2 separate regions of the Homo sapiens genome follow, and region 2 is linked to region 1. The links are contacts of gene promoters, found by promoter capture Hi-C in human tissues and cell types (Jung and others, 2019). All regions are on one chromosome and are shown on one strand. The core of a region is centred on a gene start or on the middle of the fragment in contact, and the rest is flanking DNA. Distances in the headings are between cores, read along the strand shown.

Region 1 (6,639 bases), core at 1,232-3,731:
ACCCTTGCCCCCTGCCCCTCCACCACACCACATGGCTGTGGCCTGTCTCTTCCACCGAACCGTGAGCTCCTGGCTGGTTGTCCTCCCCACCCCCCAGGTGGGCGCTACCCTCAGATGGCCCGGAAGTATGTGGAGAATGGGGCCCAAACCCTGCTTCACCCAGAGGAACCAAAAGATGCTGCACGCCCACACAGCGATGCCCTGCCTTGCTCTGCCCAAACAGGTGTGGGCTGTGACCTCGTGTTGAGGGGTCACACCTGCTATCCCCCTAGACAGAGCATAGCCATAAAACGGCACCCAGCCAGGTGAGCAGGGAAGAGAAACCTCCCCAGGCCCCAGGGCTCTGACCAGTCCCCTGGCCTCACTTGGACAGTAAGAATGAGCGTAGCCCCGGGAAGACAGCAGCCAGGAGGCCTGAAGCCCCTAAACCCCCAATTCCTTGCAACCCAGGCTGGGTAGGCAGGGCAAGAAGTGCCAGCCTCTTGTCAGAGAGGAGTGGTTGGGAGGCCTGGCTCGTTGACTGCGGGACTTTGGGCCAGTCACTTCCCCTCCCTAAGTGTGTGGGGATAATAATAGCACTAAACCCACAGGATTGTTGTAAAGATGACACGAACGGCGATCCTGATGCCCTTAGCTTGGCACAAGTAAGTTTGAAACCAAAAGCTCAGCCCTGGGAGGCCCAGGATCACTTGGGTGGAGATCCCACTTCCAAGACCCCCAAGGGAAGCCCACCCCTGGGTATTTGTATAGAAGTCCTCCCTAGGAGATTCACGCTAAGTAGGGAAGAGGGATTTAGAAACTTCAGACAGATTTTTCACAACAAGGGTAAAAAGAAAAGCGTGTGCATTAACCCTTGATTACCTAGAAGCATTCAACCAAGCAGCATCAGAAGCCGGCCTGCCACGGGGTGGGGCTGTTCTTGTATGTTGGTAGGACAGACCTCTAAGGAAGTAGCTGGTGGGAAACTGTCTCTGAGACCCCCAAAAATGCCCTGATCCACACTAGCCTAAAAGAAGTGCCACCACCGCCACCACCAGACCTCTCCCAAAGCTCCTGGAGCTGAAAAGTTCTAGGTCACTCTCCCAACCTCTTCCTGCGTGGAGTGGGGAGGCCAGGAGGGAAGAGGTTGGGAGAGTTCAAGGTGGGACACAGTAGTGGGGGCTTCAGCTCAAGAGGCAGTCAAAACCTCTTGGGGAAACCACACCCCCTGCCCCCAGTCCTCCCAGAGGAGCTCCAGGGACCTGACTCTGGGACGCAATTCCTGCCGGGAGTTGCCGGTCCCTTAGCCAGGAGGCAGGCAGCACCATCCCATTTTACAGGGTAGGTGATGTTGGCTCGGGGGCATTGGTAGGGCTCCACCCAGGTCTGACAGCCTAGCCTGAGGCTCTCCCTTGCACTAGCTCGAAGTGCACGTAGATCCTGGCTTATTCGTGTTCAGAGTCTCGCCTGGGGCTGCCCGGTCTGCCTTGCGTGGCTCCTGAGAGGCTCCAGTCACTGCAGACTTCCCTCCCTGAAGGCCCCCACTTCGGGGCTGCAGGGGGCCAGGATGCGTCCCTGCCTCTGCCCGGCTTCAGCCCGCTGGGCTGGCGCGGTTCCGGCCCGCGCAGCCCGCAGGTTCATCAATGGCCGAGGCCCAAGGGCCTGAATGGAGGGCACGAACCCGCCCCTTCTTAAAGGCGCCGGCCTCTTGGGCACCCTCCACGATCCTCCCGGCAATCGGGGGCTCCGGGGAGCTCCCCGGCTGGGCAGGTCGAGAAAGGGGGGCCTGGGCCAAAGGGAGGGCGTGCCTGTGGCCTGGAGGAGGTCCTCCCCGATCCCATCCCGTGGCCCTCACCCTCATTCTAGGTTGACGCCCCCTCCCAGCGCTCCCAGCGTAGGGAAGAGACCTGGGCACCCCTTCCCCCAACCAGAGACCCCTCCTCTAAGGACCCGGCTGCTCTCGCCCCACTACCCGGCCGGGGCCCTAGCAGGGGGCGGGGGCGCAGCTGCTCCAGAGGCGGCTCGGCCCCTCCAGCGGCTCCCCGCCCCGCCCGGGATGGGGATCGGGGAGCAGATCCCAGCCGGGGGCGCCTCCCCTCCCTCGCGCGCCCTCCTCCCTCCCACCCGCGCACACAAAGACGACACGCGCGGACCAAGGCGCGTGCGGCCGCTCTCCTTCGGGCAGCGGTGCGCACACAGCGCACGTCCCCGGGGACAGACAGGGGTCCCGGGGGAAGGACCAGGGAGCGAGGAACTGGGTATAAGGAGGCCATACCTACAGGCGCGCAGCTGCGGCCGAGCGGGCTGGGGCGCCGGCTGAGCGCTGCCCGGACCGCGGCCGGGCTCCCCGGGCCCGGTGGCTCATGGCCCGCGGCGGACTGGGCTCCCTCCCTCGTTCACCGCCTCGAAGGCTCCTGCGCTCCTCGCGGTCCCGGCGCGTCCCCCGCGCGGCTCTCTGGCAGCCGAGCTCCGCGCGCTCCAAGCCCAGCCCCAGCGCGGCGCGCCCCTCCGCCCGCGAGGCGCGCGCCTCCCGGCCCCGCCCCGCCCCCGCCCCCGCCGCGAGCCCCGGCCCCGCCCCCCCTCGCGCGTCCTGGCCCCGCCCCCTCCCGCCCCCACTTGCGCCGCTCAGGCCCCGCCCCCGGCCATCCGCGGAGCCCGAGCGGCGCCGGTGGCCGGTGCTTGCTGGCTCCCCGCAGCTGCGGTGCCGAGACTGCCCGGTCCTGGGGCCCGGAGAGAGGGGTTAGGAGCCGGCTCCGAGTCGCCCCATCTGGGCGGGGGTCCCCATGTCGCCGAGCCGGCCCCAGGCCAGGCGCGGGACTCCCACTCCTCCTCGTGGAGGCCACCCCTCGAGCCCGCGGTGGTGGTGGCCCCGGGAGCGCGGAGCGTGGGGCCGGGGGAATGTCCTGCGTGGCGGGTGTATGGGACGCGGACGCCCTCGAAGCGCCCCTCGCTGACGGGTGCTTCGCGGGAGCCGCCGCTGTGGCCAGACTCTCCGCAGCAGGGACAATGGGAGCCTGGAGGAGGCCTGGATGTCGCAACGGAGGAAGTCGACGCCTGGTTCTCATAAATCTCGAGGGCGCCACCACGCCCCCTCCCTGCAGCCCTCCGGTGCGGGAAATCGCCCCCGGGCCACAGGGCGGGACGGCCCCCCTGAGCGCAGTGCCCCCACCACCCAGCCTTCGCTGTGATGGGGGCCTGATGCCACCCGGAGAGGTGTCAGAGATCATAGAGGGGCGATGAGGGGCCACAACCCTGGCACCTTCCTCACCCCTGCCTGGCTCCAGAACTCGCCTGCTTTAGGGCAGAGACCAGTGGGGCTGAGGAAACAGTCCCGCTGGGCTTTGCGGGGCATTTGTAGCCTGACCCCTGGTGCTGAGGGCACAGCGCGGGGGCTCTGGGAGGCTTCCTGAAAGAGGTGCAGGGGGCTCAGCAGGCCTGGAAGGGGTCTGAGAGGGGAGGGAGGGCTTCGGTGGGGGCAGAGGTGTGGAAAGGGCCGCTCAGAGAAGAGAGTAGTCTTGCTCCTGGAGATAGCAGGGGGGGACCCCTGGGTGTCTTCTCCCCTCATCTCCCTCCTTGTCCCCTGCCCCCACCTCTGGCAGTTCTGTCCTGGTCTCCTTGCCAGCCGGAGCTGCCTCCATCTGTCGCCCTCCCGGGCCCAAACTGACCTCTGACTTTTCCCAGAGCCATTTCCCATCTCTAATTTACAGACAAGGGTTTTTATCAAACCCTTCTTAGGGATGGAAAGGTGGGGCTTCCAGAGTTGAAGGTGGAGGGGACAGAGCCTTCACCTGCTGCCCAAAACCCCGGTGCTGCCCTCCACGGGGGCACGGAAGACAGGCAGACCCCTTCCCTGCCCCACATCTCGGCTCTGTTCCCTCCGCAGGACCAGGCCAGCAGACACTTTAATGAAAGCTTCGGCAGTGGGCCAGCCCTCGATCGGAGCTGCACACAGGCCTGCACGCCTGGTTGGGAACCAGGACACCTATGAATGAGGCCGGGAAGGGGGAGGAGGGGGTGCCCGAGAGTGGGAGAAAGGGAAGCTCCATACATGGCCTGGTTGTGGTCTCCACCCTCCTGGGAGAGGGGAGAGCCTGACCCGCGGTGGACTAACCTGGTTCAGAGTAGTGGGCTGAACTCCACTGCTGGGATGATAGCGGCCAGAGAGGGTCCTGAGATGGGAAGCCATGGGCAGGACAATAGCTTGGATCCATCCCCAGGGAGGAAGAAGTGAGGAGGGGCCGGCGGCAGAGCGCCTCGGACCCACAAGGAGGAACTGATGGAGATGTGGAAGTGGCTGTGGGGGTGGAGGGGGCGTGGTTGGCCAAGAGCAGCTGTCGCCTCGCTGGGGATAGGAATGAAGGTCAGGGAGGAAAGGTCCATCCTGGGTCCCTGAGGGCAGGAGGCTTGAGGGGCTTGGAAGAAGTCCTCATGGGGGAGATGAGGGGTGCTGGGACGGGGACCCCAAAGAAAGGCCCCTGGATACACATGCTTTAGACTGTTCAGAACTAAAATGGAGACAGAGGTAGCACAGGGGACCCTGGCCTGGTGGGCTGCAGTGGGGGACCTGGGTTTGCAGCCAGTCTTGTGACAGCTGGACAATGAGTTAATGCACCCACTCCAGACCCAGAGAATGCGCTCCTCTATCTGAGGCTGGGCTGGAGGTGAGGTGGCCCAGAACCTGTGTCTCGGGGGGTTCCCATGCGAGGCTGGTGCTCAGGGAGATTGATGGGCACGGGCTTTGCAGCCCCTGGCAGGCGGGGGCCCATGGGAAAGGGGAGCACAGAAAGGGAAGCAGAGATTCCCCAGGAACTGACGTGGACCAAGACACGTCATACACCCAACCACAGCCCGACAGGTGGTTTTTTTTTTTTTTTTGAGATGGAGTCTCACTCTGTTTCCCAGGCTGGAGTGCACTGGCACGATCTCAGCTCACTGCAACCTCCGCCTCCCGGGTTCAAACGATTCTCCTGCCTCACCCTCCTGAGTGGCTGGGATTACAGGCATGCGCCACCATGCCCAGCTAATTTTTGTATTTTTGGTAGAGACGGGGTTTCACCACGTTGGCCAGGCTGGTCACGAACTCCTGACCTCAAGTGATCCACCTGCCTCGGCCTCCCAAAGCGCTGGGATTACAGGTGTGACCCACCGCGCCTGGCCCCGGGTGGTTTTTGAATAAAGGAATGGGTTTCCCTTTTTGATGGTGCTACTTGTCCTCTCAAAAGCACTCGGACACTGGATCTGGGTTTCAGCAGAGCTCTGAATGTACTCATGGAATTCCTGGAGATGAGAAGAGGGGGAGGAATGTTCTGTGTGCCCAGCTGTGAGGCCAGCCCCAGCTCCCAGGGGTGGCACCGCAGGCATCCCCACCAGCCTCCAGTCCCTCCAGCGTCCCAGAGCACAGGGCACCAGGGTGGCTGCAACCGTGGTTTATTTCAAATGTGCAAAGCTAAATATGCAACTACAAATCTAACTCAGGAAGGCCTGCCAGTGGCCCTGAGAGGTGGCCGTGCTAGGGTGGTCCACAGCCAGTTCTGATTGGCTAGGAGACGTTCAGACCCCTCATACCAATCCATGAGTCTGAAGAGACTGGGGCTCGGGGGCTCATTAGAGACTCTTCCTTATCTAGAAACCAGAATATCTTGCTAAAGAAGAAAGCAGAAATCACATGGGTCTGGGGGCAGGGAGGGGGTAATAGAAACTGTTCCGCTGGCTGGGGCTCTCTCTCTTGGGGTGCAGTGGGGGAGGGGGCAGACTCTGTCAAGCCTCATATACTCTGCAGGGTGGGGCTGGTGGCAAAGGCAGGCTGGGGGTGCTGGACTCAAAGCCTGCTGTCCTGGAAGGAAGCGTCTTCCACCTCTTACGGGGCATGGGGGGATCCTAGGAGAGCCCAAGAGGATCGCAGTGCAGACAGGCCCAAGCTGGATTAACCGCAGCTGGAATCGGTGGTCACCCAATTAGCCTCGCAGCTGAGGGACCTCTGCCACCAGGGCTAGAGGTCAGGCTGCGGGCAGAGCCCTAACCTGAGGTGGGGGCTGAGAGGGTCTCTGCGGCTTAGCCTGGCCGGGCATTGGGGGCTCGCTCTCTGGACCTAGCGGGCCTGATGTGACCGAGACATTCTTTCAAGGGGACCCGAGGTGACCTGGGGCCTCTGGCAGCTGCTGGACAGCGGATAAGGGCAGTTTCCATGGGGGATTCTTCAGGGGAGTCTAAGTGATTAGATGCACTGAGCAGTCGGGGTGGAGGCGCAGCCGTCACTGTCACGGGGGAGGCCCCGGGGTATCACTGCCACAAGTCACCAGCCGCAGCCCCGTTGTCATTCTCGTGGAACTTGTGCAGGTGGTCAGCGAACCTGGGGGACACGGGAAGCTTTGCTGAGGCCGAGTGTGTGTGTTGGGGAAGGGGGGTGTGTACCATGTGATGGGGTGGGGCTAGGGGGTAGTGGATACCGGGAGTAGGGGTAGGGGGAGGGCCAGAATGGGGGGCTGTGATGGAGGGCTAAGGAGTGGGGGACATGAGGCAGGAACTCGGGGGTGTTGCGGGGGTGCTGGGAGCTCGCTGTGGGGCTGAGGGGGGGCCCAAGTGGGGGTCCTCACTTCTTGGCGCAGAAGGTGGCACAGTCCCTCTCCATGCTCTCGCTCCATGCCAGCTTGTAGAGCACCT
Region 2 (7,204 bases), core at 3,608-6,107, 44 kb before region 1:
CCCCGTCGCCCAGGCTAGAGTGCAACGGCATGATCTCAGCTCACTGCAGCCTCTGCCTCCCAGGTTCAAGCGATTCTCCTGTCTCAGCCTCCCAAGTAGCTGGGATTACAGGCACCCACCATCACACCCGGCTAATTTTTGTGTTTTTAGTAGAGATGGGGTTTCACCATATTGGGCAGGCAGGCTTGTCTTGAACTCCTGAACTCAGGTGATCTGCCCTCCTTGGCCTCCCAAAGCACTAGGATTACAGGTGTGAGCCACTGCAACTGGCCGTCCCCTATATTGTAGCGCAGTGAACAATTGTTTCCTGAACATCACAAGCTCTTTTAGACACTACAGTGTATAAGCAGGTTTCTGTCTAAACCGCTCTCCTCTTCCTCCTCTGCCCAACCAATGTCTGCTCATCCAAAGAATGTATCCCGTGTGTTCATTAACTTAGCAATTTCCAGTAAACCGTTTAATTGATAACTTGTTAAGAGAAGGCAGGAAACCTCCATGAAAGAGAAATCAGTGGGTATTTCCTACAGCATTTAACACATCGTAGGCCTTCAATAAACCCTTGTGAAATAAACAAACCTCTTTACTCTTCGTTCTACCTTGCTAAGAATCTCACCTAAGTCTGTCTACCATGTGAAACTGCAGATGACCTCACAGAAAATTGAAAGAAGTATCTCTAAAAATAAGTTTATTAGGCAACACACTATAGGCTACAGTCCACTTCTGATTTTTTTTTTTTTTTTTTTGAGACGGAGTCTTGCTGTGTCACCCAGGCTAGACTGCAGTGGCACGATCTCAGCTCACTGCAACCTCCGCCTCCTGGGTTCCAGCGATTCTCCTGCCTCAGCCTCCCAAGTAGCTGGGATTACAGGTGCCCTGTGGGGAGGCTCCTGGCTGGTTTCCCGTAGGTAGACAGCTACACTTCCTTGCCCTTCATTGGCTTCTTTTCATGAAGCTCCTGCTGTCTACAAAACATGACCACCTGAGGTCAGGAGTTCGAGACCAGCCTGGCCAACATGTTGAAACCTCGTCTCTACTAAAAATACAAAAATCAGCTGGGCGTGTGGCGGGCGCCTGTAATCCCAGCCACTCGGGAGGCTGAGGCAGGAGAATCATTTGAACCCTGGAGGCGGAGTTTGCCGTGAGCTGAGATCGAGCCATTGCACTCGAGCCTGGGCAACAAGAGTGAAACTGTGTCTCAAAAAAACAAAAATGTTATATATATACACGTATGAAAAATATATACACACATACATATATATATACACATATGTGTGTGTATATATACACGTGTGTGTATATATATACACGTGTGTGTATATATATATACACACGTGTGTGTATATATACATACACACGTGTGTGTATATATACATATATATATACATACACACCCGTGTGTGTGTATGTATATATATATACATTTATTTATTTATTTTATTTTATTTTTCCCTGGTTGGGCACAGTGGTTCATGCCTGGAATCTCAGCGCCTTGGGAGACCGAGGCGGGAGGATTGCTTGAGCCCTGAGAGTTTGAGACCAGCGTGAGCAACATAGTTAGTTCCTTGTCTCTATTTTTTTTTTTTTTTTGAGTCGGAGTCTAGCTCTGTCGCCCAGGCTGGAATGCAGTGGCCTGATCTCGGCTCACTGCAAGCTCCGCCTCCCAGGTTCACGCCATTCTCCTGCCTCAGCCTCCCGAGTAGCTGGGACTACAGGCGCCTGCCACCACGCCCGGCTAATTTTTTTGTGTGTGTTTTTAGTAGAGACAGGGTTTCACTGTGTTAGCCAGGATGGGCTCGATCTCCTGACCTTGTGATCCACCCGCCTCAGCCTCCCAAAGTGCTGGGATTACAGGCCTGAGCCACCGCGCCCGGCCGCCTTGTCTCCAATTTTTAAATATTTTAATTAGAATACAAATTATCCATTTTTTTTTTTTTGCATATGGCTGCGTAAACATGTTAGTTCAGAGATTCTGCCCTGTGAAAAGTGAATAGCACATAAATGCTCATTTTGAGGAATTACAAAGCGAACCCCAGGGTCACCACCTCCCAGGTTGACACACATTGTCACCGCTCCATTCTTTCCACTTAAATCTCCCCCCCCAACCCCCCCCCCCAGGTCCTGATTTTTATGGTAATTATGTCCTGTTTGTGTCTGTTATTTTGTCAACTAAGTATCCCTAAACAATATAGTCTGGGTTTTTGTTTGTTTTTTTTGTTTGTTTTTTTCAGACAGAATCTCACTCTGTCACCCAGGCTGGAGTGCAGTGGCATGATCTCGGCTCACTGCAACCTCTGACTCCCGGGTTCAAGCAGTTCTCCCGCCTCAGCCTCCTGAGTAGCTGAGATTACAGGCGCCGTCCACTGCACCCGGCTAATGTTGTATTTTTAGTAGAGTCAGGGTTTCACCATGTTGGCCAGGCTGGTCTCGAACTCCTGACCTCCAGCGATCTGCCTGCCTCGACCTCCCAAAGTGCTGGGATTACAGGCGTGAGCCACCATGCCTGGCCCCTAAACAATATAGTCTTGATATTGTTGTAACCGAGCGAGTTATAGAGAAACGCCGCACCATGAGACTGATTTAGGAGTCCTTTATTGCCGGTGACTGAGAGATGGCTAGAGCTCAAAATTCTTTTGGCCCCGAAGAAGGGGCTAGATTTCTTTTTATACCGTGGTCTAAATAGGGGAGGGGGAGTTTAGCTGAAACAATTTTTACAGAAGCAGAACAGGGAAAAATTAAAAAGATTAATTGGTTACATAAATAGTTACAGAAAAATAAACAGTTCCAGGTGCAGGGGCTCAAACTACCACAAAGAGATAAATGCAGGGTCTTTTGGTATCATCCACCGAGCGAGTCCCCAAGAGCTGCTGGTTCAGCTTGCCTCGATACCTTATCAGTAAGTGCATTCCTAGACGTGCATGGAGTCAGCTTAGACTAGTTATGCCTTTAAGGGAGGGGGCTGCAAGTGAAGGAACTAAAATGGAGCCTGTCTGGCTCTCTCAGCTAAGAGAGACAATCACGTTAAAATAAGGTAGGGTATCACAATATAGGTAAGCATACAGCGTATATTTAATATGTCTGGCTTTTTTTTTCCATGTAGAGATGGGGTCTCACCACATCTCTACATAAAAGGTGGTTAACGAGATCCAAGGTGGTCTCCATCTCGTGGCCTCAAGTGATCTTGTAACCCCAGCCCCCCAAAGTGCTGGGATTACAAACATGAGCCACTGGTGCCCAGCCCTGGCTTCTTTTTTGTAGACATTATTTTAGAAGTCATTTTATTGTAACAACAGAAGTATTCATTTTCTCTGTAGTATGCTGTTCTATTTCATGACTCTCCACCATATATTTATCCCTCCTTCTTGCTCAGGGACACTGGATTGTTTTCCATTTTAACCTGCTATGAACAATTCTGCAGGGAATATTCTTTTTTTTTGTTTTTTTTGGAGACAGAGTCTCGCTCTGTTGCCCAGGTTGGAGTGCAGTGGCGTGATCTCGGCTCACTGCAACCTCCACCTCCTGGGTTCACGCCATTCTCCTGCCTCAGCCTCCAGAGTAGCTGGGACTACAGGTACCCGCCACCACGCCTGGCTAACTTTTTGTGTTTTTAGTAGAGACGGGGTTTCACTGTGTTAGCCAGGATGGTCTCTATCTCCTAACCTCATGATCCGCCCACCTCGGCCTCCCAAAGTGCTGGAATTACAGGCGTGAGCCACCGCGCCCGGTCTCTGCAGTGAATATTCTTACACAGAGGAGCAGGCATGGGGTATGTACTAATGAATGGGACTGCTGGCTCAGTGGTCCACCTGGCTTTCCACCCTACTAAATTGTTTTCCAAAGTTGTTATACTGGTTTATGCGCTCTCTCACTGCTCACCAGCAGGGTAGAATTCCTGATGTTTGCATCCTGCCTAAAGCTGGTGGGTGTAGCGTGGTATCCTAGGGTAGTTTTAGTTTGGATTTCTCCAGACTTCTCTAAGTTGAGGACCTTTTCATATTCACTGGCCGCTGTGATTGCTCTTTCGTAATGTACCTGCTCAAGTCTTTCACTCTTTTCTCATTGCAAACGTACATCCTAGGTTTCCAGCAGGAGCAACAGGCCTGTCGATTCTGACACAAGATGGGTGAATCGGTAACTTTTCTGGTTTGTTTTCCCACTGCTCATTATCCTTCTGTTTTCTTTAATGGCTTTCTGCCTAGATCAGGAGGGATGGACTTTCTTTTGAAACCCAGTAACACAACTGTTATTTCAGTACAGAGCTAAGACAGGAATAGCAGACATGGTTCAATGGTCCCTGCACCTAGAGAGTGCCGTGGAAACAGGGCCCAGTCACCCTCCAACTGCACTGCACAGTCCCATGAAACCAGAAAGACAACCCAGGTTGGAGAATGTCACCTTTCATTTAAGACCAAGTTTTGCAGGGTCTTTTTAATTTGTTTTTAAGTCTGCTACCTAACTTCCTTTGGGCTTTTATTTGTGAACTTATAACTTAGAGGACACGTAATCTCACTCTTCTAGCAATTTCTCTAGGAGATGATAACAATGTGGACAGACAAATAATTAGCAATAAAACATCTTGGCCAGGCATGGTGGCTCACATCTGTAATCCCAGCACTTTGGGAGACCAAGGCAGGAGGACCACTTGAACCTAGGAGTTCAAAACCAATCTGGGCAACATGGTGAAACCCCATCTTTACAAAAAGTACAAAACTTAGCCAGGTGTTGTAGCACGTGCCTGTAGTCCCAGCTATTCAGGAGGCTGAGGTGGTAGAATCACTTGAGCCCAGGAGGTCAGGGCTGCATTGAGCTGTGATCGTGCCACTGCACTCCAGCATGGGCAACAGAGTGAAACCCTGTCTCAAAAAAAAAAAAAAAAAACAAAAAAAAAGCAATCAAGCATCTCCAGGGTAAATGAGAGCAACATGAAGAATAAGCTGCTTATAAATACTTATAAGTTAAATTGATAAAAACAATATACCACATCATAATCTAGTCTCAGCAAGGAAAACAACAGGCCAACATTAGAAGGCACCAATGACATAAAACAGATCTTGAACATTTTGGTATTAGATCATGAAGGACTAGCTCAAGCTGCACTCAGGGCTTAAGAATCACAAGCCACGTTACACATACAGTACTTCAGACATTCTTCATTCCTGACTGAGTTTTTTTGAGACGGAGTCTCACTCTGTCGTCCAGGCTGCAGTGCAGTGTCATGATCTCGGCTCACTGCAGCTGCCGTCTCCCAGGTTCAAGCAATTCTCCTGCCTCAGCCTCCCCAGTAGCTGGTATTACAGGTGCCCACCACCACGGCCAGCAATTTTTTGTATTTTTAGTAGAGAAGGGGTTTCACCATGTTGGCCAGGCTGGTCTCAAACTCCTGACCTCAAGTGATCTGCCTGCCTTGGCCTCCCAAAGTGCCAAGATTACAGGCATGAGCCACTGCACCTGGCCCTTACTGAGCTTTGAATCCAGTAGATGCATTTTTGGCCCTATTGGAGCAGACAACCTACTGCCATTTGTGGAAATTAGCAAGCTTGTACACAAGCAATGTACAAATACAGGCTGGTTAAGAGAGATTGGAAATATGACTCAGGACTTATCATTAAGTAACAGAATATTACACAGGTAGTAGCCTTCCCTGTCACACACCTTGCTTTCAAATTTATTTTCAGTCAGCACGTAATTTTTTTTTTTTTTTGAGATGGAGTCATCCTTTCACATCCATCAGTAGAGATGGAGTTTCATCGTGTTGTCCTCTCGAACTCCTGACCTCAAGTGATCCACCTGCCTTGCCCTTCCAAAGTGCTGGGATTACAGATGTGAGCCACCATGCCCGGCCAGCACCCAATAATTTAATTGGCATACTTAACTCTGCTCCACCCGGAACAGACTTAAGACTTCTTAGACTTCTAAAGATTTTTTAAAGTCTTCTTTTTCCTTTTGGTTTCTTTAGTTTGTAGTTAAGGCTTTGCAGACTTGCCTCCTATAATGTCTCCTTTTATTTTTTATTTTTTAATTTTTATTTTTTGAGACAGAGTCTCACTCTGTCACCCTGGCTGGAGTACAGTGGTGCGATCATAGCTCACTGCAGCTTTGAACTCCTGGACTCAAGCAGTCCTCCCACCTTAGCCTCCTGAATAGCTGAATACAGGCACGTGCTACCACACCTGGCTAATTAGTATTATTTTTTTTGTAGAAATGGGATCTTGCTGTATTGCCCGGGCTGGTCTTGAACTCCTGGGTCAAGCCATCCTCCTGCCCTGGCCTCCCAAAGTGCTGGGATTATAGGCATGAGCCACGGTGCCCAGCCTTTGTCTTAGTTTTTGGTCCCCCTCACCTGACCCCACAGTTCTAGAACCATTCCCTTGCAAAGAAAGGGACTGCTCACGGCTGGGGATGGAGAAGTGCTGTGGTAGGAGCCCTTTCTTCTCTTTCTTCCCCAGCTGGATTGCCAAACCTACCCTGCGGTCCTCGTCTTCCTGGCCCCATAGCTCCTCCTCGCCAAGCATGTCTTCCCCACTGCAGAGAGCTGCGGGAGGTACCAAGAGGGCCTTGTCTGCATCTTCTAGTTCCTCTGCCAGTCTACCCTTCGATGACAGGGACTCAAACCATCCCTCAGAGGGTAAGTAGATGTTGCATTGTGCGGCCACTTCCTGTGTCCGTGGCAGCCTTCCCCCTCTCGTTTTCCCACATTGATGATAATATGCGTGGGACTGTGTGAATACACCAGAAGTGCTGTACTCGTTCAGCACAGTGACACCCTCCCTCCAGCTCCAGGTGTTTTTTTTGGGGGGTCCTAGATGTTGTAGACATCAAAATAGTAGTACATCCTGTTTTTTGTTTGTTTGTTTGTTTGTATGAGATGGAGTCTCGCCCTGTCGCCCAGGCTGGAGTGCAGTGGTGTGATCTTGGCTCACTGCAACCTCCGCCTTCCGGGTTCAAGCACATCCTGTTTTTAATCCATCATCCATCGTGTCTAAACCTCTCTTAAACACATTTCTGTGTTCAGCATGTACAACCCCTGGTGGGGGCTGGGAGGTGGCAGATGGGTGAGTAAAGAGTTCTTTACTTGTTGCCTGGTAAATTGTATAAACTTTTTATCTGGTGTCCCCTAGTTCTTCTGCTTGGGGATTTTGTAAACAGGTCTGTGTATCCTTATTTATTACCACATATGAGTTTATTCTGTATAGTTTATAATAATATA

What was found. The method cuts DNA at HindIII sites, captures the fragments that hold promoters and counts their contacts. A contact is called where the count stands out against the background at its distance.
Region 2: a contact is called between a fragment that was not itself captured here and the fragment with the promoter of SH2B2 in region 1, in 2 of the 25 tissues and cell types used here (lymphoblastoid cells and spleen).

What each region holds. Positions count from the first base shown.
Region 1 is chr7:102,282,710-102,289,348 of GRCh38, reverse strand. SH2B2 (SH2B adaptor protein 2) reads right to left here and starts at 2,481. Exons shown (of 9, transcript NM_001359228.2): 1 at 2,255-2,481. It also overlaps a transcript of CUX1 not described here. RefSeq lists enhancers at 14-63, 734-823 and silencers at 1,974-2,513, 2,584-3,163, 4,941-5,125. The HindIII fragment of the contact is 12,688 bases long and covers 1,829-6,639 here.
Region 2 is chr7:102,328,834-102,336,037 of GRCh38, reverse strand. No RefSeq gene overlaps it. Among named protein-coding and RNA genes, the nearest start is that of SPDYE6, 24 kb to the left of the region's middle. The HindIII fragment of the contact is 5,280 bases long and covers 2,218-7,204 here.